Regions from separate parts of the Homo sapiens genome. Here regions 1 and 3 are each linked to region 2. Evidence: promoter capture Hi-C in human tissues and cell types (Jung and others, 2019). All regions are on one chromosome and are shown on one strand. The core of a region is centred on a gene start or on the middle of the fragment in contact, and the rest is flanking DNA. Distances in the headings are between cores, read along the strand shown. Region 1 overlaps AKAP6 (A-kinase anchoring protein 6). Region 2 holds the start of AKAP6 (A-kinase anchoring protein 6). Region 3 overlaps AKAP6 (A-kinase anchoring protein 6).

Region 1 (3,084 bases), core at 394-2,893, 220 kb before region 2:
TTTTTCTCAGAGGATGAAGCTCTTTCTGACTTCTCATCAGCATACTTTTTCATGCCAGCGAGAGGCATACTGGACTCCTCATCAGAAAGAATGTCACTCAGGGGCCCAGATTCAATGCTCTCCCCTAGTGAAGAGGCTATGTCACTAGATGAGCTTGGAGACACCCTGCCTAGCCTTGTATGCTTCTTTTTGACATGATAGGTTGGATAGATTTCAGAATCTGAATTCATTTCAGACAGTTCCCAGTCATCAATATTCTGGATGGTTTCTCCTCTGGGTTTCTGAGGCAGAAGCTTTGTTAGGTTTTCCAACTTCAAAGCCAATACTTCTGTCTGCTTAAGGTGAGAGGGCAGTGCTAGGTATTCATCAGAGCCATACCAGGCCTCCACAACCTCACCATTCCTAGTGACGTGACTTGGAGAGGAGGCTTGACCTTTTTTGCTTTTGTGTTTTGAAAGAAGTGGCACCGGAGACATGATGTTGTCTGAGCCAACAGAGGATTCACTGCTCTGAGTAAAAGCTGGTGAACTGGATGTTTCTGACTGCAATTGCAATTTGGCATTCCAACTTCTCTGATTACAAGGCTCAAGTGAGGATGTGGAAGCAGAATTTGTTTGTGGCCCCTCTATGGCCTTGGAAGTATAAGAAAGCTCTCCATTTGGCACTGCTGAGCTCTTTGTATTTTTAGCTTGTTTGCCTGAACCAGTCCCCCGTTTAGGTGTTCGGCATGGAGGCACCTCTTCTGAGGTCTTGTGTGGCTTTTTAAGTCGAGATTTCTCTTTATAGCAGTCGTTAAGCCTTCCCAGGCTGGAAGAAATTTCTTTAATGTGAAATTTGACTGTGTTTTCAAGGTTCCCATTCCCCACCTTGTGTAAACACTCATAAGACTGGCTGGCAGCAGAAGGGCTGTTGGGGTAAGAAGACTGCAATACCAGGCAAAGTTTGGATCTGTCAGGAGGATCTACTAGCGAAGGGGTGCTTCTGCTCATCTCAGGCTTTAGATCAACCATTTGCCTCTTTCCACCATTGCCTTTCAGATCATTCTTAAAAGTTTCCTCTTTAAGAAAAAGTCCTCTTTTTGGCAATGTAGGCTGCGTGGGAGAGTCCTCGTTATAATTAAAGCAATCTCTGATGGTTCGTTTGGGGGTTGCATTTTCACAAGGAACAGGCTGCTGATTCTTTGCATCATGATGGGAGGAGGAACTGGATTCTTGCTGCACAGTCTCAGAGGAGGGTTGAGCAGCATTTGTCAGAGCTTCTCCTGAAGATGATGACACCCCCAGTGTTAAGCCTGGTTGCTCTTCGACTGCAGAAGCATTGTCTTCCTCACATCCACCTTTGTCGTCTACTGAGAGAGATACTTGAGATACCTCCTCAGTAACTGCTTCACTGCCATTGGTAGAGATAGAGTCAGCAGCTACCGTAAGTAAACCAACACTTCGGATAAGCTCAGGAAACTCCTTTTCCATCTCACTGTAGCTCCAAGAGTCAAAGGGTTTGGTTTTGACTTGGCTAGAGGTCATGTCACCTAGCCCACTGAGCAAATCCTCACTTGGACTGTAGTCAGACAGTTCGAATGCAGTAATGCCACAATCCAGAGACAAGTAATTTTGAGAACATTTGATGGTTAATTGTCCTGAGTCATCCACTTCTGTTAGAGAATCAAGCCGGCCCTGAAACAGACAATGGCAATGGTTTCAGTAAATGCAACATCAATTACAACATCAGCTGCTATGTAAATGAAATTGCAGTACAGGGCACTATAAAGGTCAAATGTATTGGTCCCTATTGCTTGTGGTTTGACATACACAAAGGGATATTAATCAATTACCACATTGCTTTATATAGTATCTTGTTCTTAAACACCTGAAGATTTTTCACTAATCTGGAGTATACAGCCTTAACAGAAATGTCAAGAGCAAGCCAAAAAAATCCATTCTTGACTTAATTTTCAACTTAAAAATAATATATTATTCATTTAATAAGAATTTCATAAACAAAGCCTTAAGTAATACAATTTCTGGGATCAAAATAATGTAAAAGTAAAATCTCCACGAATGTCTGTTTTGCTTTTTGCTATCATTCCAGTACCTACCACAGTGGCTAACTCATGGTAGATGCTCAATAAATATTTTTAAGTAGAATAATTAATTATAATAAGCCAGTTGTGTTAAACATATATTGATGAATCAAAGGAAGGTAAACTACTGAATTTGCAAATACATAATAGTTCAAGACCAGTTTCTGTTTGGCCCCACCCTTTTGAAGGAGAAAATTAATGAATGTCCAAACTTTATCATTAGAGATAGCATCAGCTCCTCCCTCTGCATGTTTTTCTCCCCAAGTCCTGCTCCCACTGGTGTTTGCGAGCTGTTAAGTGCCCATCTTTCTTACTATTCATAATTCTGGATAGGCTGATTTGATTTAAAACTCCCTCACACTAAAAAAACAGCATTACGATTAACTATTTTTAATTTGTTAAATCTTTAATTCTGTAATTAAGGCTTTTGTCCCATTACTAATGCAGTTTCTGATTTCATACAACAAATGGGAAGATTTTCACTGATGATTTGTTTGGGGTAGAAGAGCCCTGGGAACTATCCTATTTTGCCTACTGGCTAAATAACAGACTGATCTAACCTAGCCCCCTTAGGAAATGAAAAAAGAAAACTGAAAAGTGAAGGGTTGTTACATCCCCAGATCTCCTTTTTTTCTGGAGGAAGAACTGTGGTGAGCCAATTGAAGCTGGATTCCATGTGGCTGCTGGACCCTGTGATCCTTTCAACCAGGTTTTCCCAGATCTGGCTTCTCCAGGATCTTATATCTGGTTTTACTGCTCATTTGTTTGTTTTTGTTTTTGGAATGTTCTCTCCCTTCAGACCTTCACCCTGCCTTTATCTCCTACTCCACTCACTCTCATTCCATAACATCTAGATAAACAGACAAAAAGCCTTATTTAACTTTTCTAAGCCTCAGAGTCCTCATCTATAAATGATGATGGTTGATTACTACAATTACTTTTTCATTTAATCCTTAAAATTTTCTTCTGCCGTCTGTACTATTGTCCCTTTCTTACATAAGAGT
Region 2 (2,980 bases), core at 459-2,958:
CACCCAGCAGTCCCAGCAGAGCTTTCTGCTCACATTATATGACATAAAAAAGCAGGCAATGAACAATTCATGCTTCTAAGTGCTTGCGATAAAGCCAGGCTGAGCTGACCTCTCCCATCCTATACAGCTGCATGTCAGAAACATAAGCTTAAAGGACTGAGAGTAGCAAGCATGTGCGTGATGTGGTATAAACAAACAAATTAAAACCTGAGGCCTTTCCTCTGGCTGGTGCCTAATGGGACTAGCATACTTAACTCTGTGCAAAAAAAAAAAAAAAAAAAAAAAAAAAAAATCACTCCAAGCTAGCTAAAGGTATTGCTTTTCCTGCTTTCCATGATATATCTCTTTAGCCCCAATAAACAGACTAAAAGAAGAGGAATTCAATGGTTGCCATTCTTTCGTGTAAGACTTTTTGAGTAAAAACTATCAATTTGGCAGCATTAAGCCACAAGACCACTCCCTGATTCTAAGTGGACATATTGATCAATTGAACTGACATGTGCCTCCTCCTTTCTCTCCCCTAGTAGCAATCAGCTGTACCAGGGAAATCCATTTCATTTCCCAAAACAAAAGGCAACATTCTGCTCCTTATCTGACACTGTCAGACTAATTTTTTAGAAAATAATAATAATAATAAAGATGCCTAAAAACAGAGCTAGGAGTTGAAATGAAAATGATACGTGTTTAGAGTTTTGGAATTGAGTTGAGGTTATGACTGAGTCCAGAGGTCTGTAATCCCTACAACCACTGAGGACCCTGATATTTATTCATCATACCCAGATTTTTGTTAAAGTTAAGCAAGGGATGGCAACACCACTGCCACTTCAGAGGCTCTCCCAGGGTTACCCTTCACTGCAACTGCCGCAGAGAGGAGACTTGTTCCTTTCTCAGTTACAAGTCAGCCTGCAAACAACTCCAGCTATTTCAGAGACTAGCTAGAGATGGAAAAATATGTGGCAGTCTTTCAACTAACTCTGAAGGACATGGGTTGAAGAACTACCATATAGATCAAAAGGCTCAAATAATTTCATTTGGTTTAGGTTTTTATGCTTTTAATAAATTCTGTCTTGAATATGCAAGAGATCCCCTTTCACATCAGGGTTATGTCAAATGCTTATTCAGCATTTGTTCCTTGCCATGAAGAAACTGAAACCCAACCGAGGTAAATAATGAATTTCATACTGCAAATCACTGAATATTTCATAATTCACAAGAGCAAAGAGGGGGCCAATTAGCTCTGCCTCCCAAAAAGAAATCTATATTTTTACAATGCTTAAATACTGTTAACTACTCATTTTAAAGCTTATCTGGGGTTTTGCAATTGAAAAATCATCTTATGTTTATGAAAAATTCTGTAAGAACACTTAAAAATAACAGACAGAGCTGGAGCAAGAATAATTCTACATATTTTAATTCCTATATGACTCTTACAGGCCTTTGTCTTAACCCGGCAGCCTGAAAAACGATTTAGGTAAAACAGCCCTTCTTTCCCCAGTCCATTTTAAGCAGAGACAACATCCCCCAATCTCCGCCTTAGCAGACACCGACTAACCAACAAAACAGCCGTGCAATTAAGGCCCAGACATTTAACACTCACCATCTCCTGATCCCACCGTCTTCTTTTGATGTTTACAGCACATCTGTAGGATGCAATACTAGGAGATGCCTTGTTTGACCTGCTGCATGATGCTGTGACATCAGTTCAGATGATGCAGCTCATTATGGGAAAGACTGCTGTTGCTATGGCAACTGGGATGTGCTAGGAATCCTTGCTGCATTTCCAGTGGAGCCTGAGACAATACGGAAGCCCTGTAAGAAACAGACGATATGCAAAATTTAGACCAAAGGAAGAGGATTCCTCATTGGACTAAAATCCATAGGTTTAAAAGGGATTTCCCTGAAAGCATTTTGGAAAAAACAAAAATTATCTCCCCCTTTGTTGTTATACATTTAGAAAAAAAAGGTGGGAGGAGAAAATAGAATTAGTACTAAGCAAATAAAAACTGAAATGTACAATGTTTCCTTATTAGACAATTTGATCACTTTTTCCTCCCTGGTCAGCACTGGGATAGCTTTTTAAAAGTTATTAAAAAGAATTTTTGCTCATCTGTCAAAGACCAAAAGAACAAAACAGCGAGCACAAAAATAATTAAAAATGGAATATAAACAGCTGACCAAATGACTCTAACTCTCAAGTAAACAAGTTTTAATTCTCAAAACATGGGCAAACCCTTGGCCAATGAAGTCTGTCCTGGTTATTTTCCCTGATGAACACCAACCCACAGAACCTTCCCATGCAGAATAAACCCAGCTTTCACCTGGTCATCAGATAGGCAGCAAAGGGAAGTTTGGAATCTAGAGGGGCACAACACACCACCCTCAACTTCTACTGACCCTTCCTTTGGCCTGCAGGGAACCCCTCCTTCTCATGGCCAAAACGCATGTGAGTCTTTTCTGGGATCAAACCTAGTGGTTGGAACAAGTAGCAGACCTGCTAGAAACTTCCTAAATCGTTGGCATTCCAAACATTGGGGTCTGTTTTCTTCTTTTCTGAACAATAAAACTGCCTACCACACAGATTATTTGTGCCCCTCCCCAACCCCAAAAGCTGGAACTGTGTGAAAAGCCACATTTAAACAAGACACGGTAAGGCATTTCTCCAGTTGGTAAAAGAAAAGCAAATCTAAAGCAATCACTTCTTTCCAGTCCTGAGCAGAAATCAACGTCATGTGGTGAGAACTGGGGAGAAGGAGATATGGACAGAGCAGCCTATGTTTTGCATATTTAATATTTGCAGGCCATTGATAGAGAAAAGCAGAATCAAGTTGACCTGTATCCACTCCGTCTTCACAACTCTGAAAAAGAACAACATTCCAAAAGCTTAAAACATGAGACAATTATGTTGTCTCCTCCTGCTTGAGATTTTAAAATGGCACTGTTAACCACCAGCATAGGCGGTGTGGGATGAGTGGCAGAAGGA
Region 3 (2,935 bases), core at 208-2,707, 150 kb before region 2:
ACACAAAAAACTATTCAGGAAATAATATTAAGTTAAAGAAACAATGTATAAAATTGTTATAGAATCTGAGTCCAATTTTTTATTACATGTAAATAATTAGAAAAAGTAAATATATCAAAAATGGTAATAGTGGATATCTCTAGTGGTCCACTGATTATTTTTTATTTTCTTCTCATTTTTATAAGAATATGTATTAATCACACAATCAAGAAAACAGTAGAAGTAATTTTTAAAAGCAATTGTATACAACACTGAAAATCAATCAAAGTGAGGAGTCGATGTTTACTTGGTGTAAGTCATATGTGGTCCACTGATTATTTTTATTTTCTCCTCATTTTTATAAGAATATGTATCAGTCATGTAATCAAGGAAAACAATAGAAGTAATTTTTAAAAGCAATTGTATATAATACTGAAAATATCAAAGTGAGTCGATGTCTACTTGGTATAAGTCACATGTTCCTAAGTCTAAACCCTGAGTCAATGGAATTCCTTTTCAGAAAGCATTCTCCCTATATTCCTAGGAGTCCTTTAACATGTCAAATTCTCATCTCCTCTCCCCCCAAAATATTTTCTTCAGCTCCCTCTAATTTAAGACTATCTCTTTCTTTGTGGATACTAATTTTATTCTGAGTCAAAGGGGGGACACAGTAGAAATCAGGAATTCTTGGCCATTATACCAAGGGATCCTGTTTATGCTTCTCTTCCATTTCCTATCTCACACTAACCATTTTCTCTTCCTCCATCTGCACAGCCAGTCTCTATCCATCCCCATTTCCTGCCTAAAAGAGTGATAATCATCTTTCTTTATATTTAGTCATCACAATGTAGTTTATGTGTTCTAGGAGCTCTCTATAAAATCAACCTGAATGTTCACCTTCTTTCCCCTGACGAGCCTTGAGCAGACCTATATTTCAGGCTAAATCTAGTTTTCTCCTTGCTGATTATCTCTTTCTGGCATCGAATTAAATTTTTGTTTTTTTTATGGTAGAGGTCTCCTCTGATGTGTCTTTTACCACATTTGGTTTTCCCTCGGAAGACATTTAGCCCATCTTTGATCCTTGTCACCCACAGGCTGTTAGTGTTACTGCTGCTGCTTCACATCTTGACTCCAGTTGGAGCTTGGAATTCTCCTTTTCACTATTCACTTAATCATTCAGTCATCTGTTTAGCAGATGGACCCGCATTTCCCTGACATCTATTCCATAGTTTCACAGATCTGGGCATGATGTCTTCCTGACACATCTGATGGCAATCACACAGGGACTTGGCTTGTGGGCACACGTACGTGTGTGTGTGTGTGACTTCTTGGCAACAACATTCACTAATGTTGGCTCTTAATCACTGAATAAGAGCACCCAAAACTCCATACAAGGCAAATGCTCAGCACATGCCTTTGCTCTGAATCTTCAAGTTTGCTTTTGGCATTTAGGGCTGATGCCCACTATGTCTGTCAAGCTATGTGAAAGATTCACTAGGGAGGCTCAACCCCAGCCATGCAATGCCTGTTGACAGGAGAATCTAAGACTCTCTCATCATTCTAGCTATATTTATAAAGTGCTCACTATGGCCAGGCATCATTTTAAGCAATTTCACAAATACTATCTAACTTAAGGCTCATTGCACCTCCATGAGGTAGATGCTATTATCATGACCATCATTTTACAGAAGAAGAAAATGAGGCACAGTGAGCTGCTTTATGTAACCCTGTAAGAAATGGAGCTGGAATCTGAACCCAGACAGTTGGGCCCCAAGAATCAACTCTCTTAACCTCCATTCTAAATTGCCTCTCAGCTGTAGCAAGATTGCTATAAAGAAAAATGCTTCATTACTGAAAAGATCTGGCTAAATATGATTTTTGGAACCAAAGTAATAAATATGCCAGAAGGCATTTTTGCAAGTCGGTGATACAACACCGTCTTGAAATTGCAGCACTAAATTCATTTGTTAGGACAGACATTCACATACATATAACAGCCAAGTTGCCTAAGAGTTGAGCTCCAACCTGCCAGCCTCAGCCACTGCTTGGGAGAACTGCGAACCCCAATCTCAGCTTTCCTCTTCAGTTGCTTCTATGTATAAGATGGACCCAGGACCCCTCTTAAGGGCCTGCTATCCTCTCTCCCACACCCCTTCAACACCGCCAGGCATGGAAATAAAGGAAGATCTGGAGCTCCTTCAATGGAAATTCCAGGCACCTAGCTAGCCCTGAGAAGTAAATGAGCAACTTGGTAAGCAAGAAGGTAGCAGTAGCTTAAAACAATAGCCAAGGAAGTTAGGGTCATGAGATGTTCCCTGTAGAAATTAAAGATAACATCTTAATGTGAGTTGTTTTTCAGAAACCCAGACCCCTTCCAAATGGATCCACTGGCATGTAGACCTCAGATAAAAGGGAACTGAGGACTGAACTCTGACTGCTGTTCTTTGTTCTAAATTTCTTCCTGAGGAGCCTGGAAGAGGTCATACCCATGAGCCAGAGCTAACTTTCTTTTCTGCTGATCACAAATTTTTAGATAAAGCTTCATCTCCTTAACCAATTGCAAATCAGGAAACCTTTGAATCTATCTATGACTTGTAAGACCCCGCTTTAAGATATCCCACCTCTTTAGGCCAAACCAATGTATAACCTCTGTGTATTGATTGATGACTTTGCCTATAACCTCTGCCTCCTCACCTTTAAAAGGCCTTACTTGTAAGCCACTGTGGAGGCTGGGTCTTAAGTGTGAGCTGCTGATTCTCCTTGCTTGGCATCCTGCTATAAATGCTTCACTTTCTCTTGCAGCAATCCCTATGTCAGTATTTGGCTTTGCTACACCAGGCAAGGGGATCCCAGTTTAGTTTGGTAACACTTACGGAAAATCCCTCCCTATTATTTTAGCACTGTGATTCAGAAAGATCTTCAACTTGCGGCCCGGTGTCTGAAGGTTTTAATCTTT

The links. The method cuts DNA at HindIII sites, captures the fragments that hold promoters and counts their contacts. A contact is called where the count stands out against the background at its distance.
Region 1: a contact is called between a fragment that was not itself captured here and the fragment with the promoter of AKAP6 in region 2, in 2 of the 25 tissues and cell types used here (dorsolateral prefrontal cortex and hippocampus).
Region 3: a fragment that was not itself captured here is called in contact with the fragment with the promoter of AKAP6 in region 2 in 1 of the 25 tissues and cell types used here (hippocampus).

The regions. Positions count from the first base shown.
Region 1 is chr14:32,543,819-32,546,902 of GRCh38, reverse strand. It overlaps AKAP6 (A-kinase anchoring protein 6), which reads right to left. Exons shown (of 14, transcript NM_004274.5): 4 at 1-1,673. Among named protein-coding and RNA genes, the nearest start is that of AKAP6, 220 kb to the right of the region's middle. The HindIII fragment of the contact is 5,736 bases long and covers 1-3,084 here.
Region 2 is chr14:32,328,026-32,331,005 of GRCh38, reverse strand. AKAP6 (A-kinase anchoring protein 6) reads right to left here and starts at 1,708. Exons shown (of 14, transcript NM_004274.5): 1 at 1,598-1,708. The HindIII fragment of the contact is 5,497 bases long and covers 726-2,980 here.
Region 3 is chr14:32,476,596-32,479,530 of GRCh38, reverse strand. The region is part of intron 2 of AKAP6 (A-kinase anchoring protein 6); the gene reads right to left. Among named protein-coding and RNA genes, the nearest start is that of AKAP6, 150 kb to the right of the region's middle. The HindIII fragment of the contact is 5,364 bases long and covers 1-2,935 here.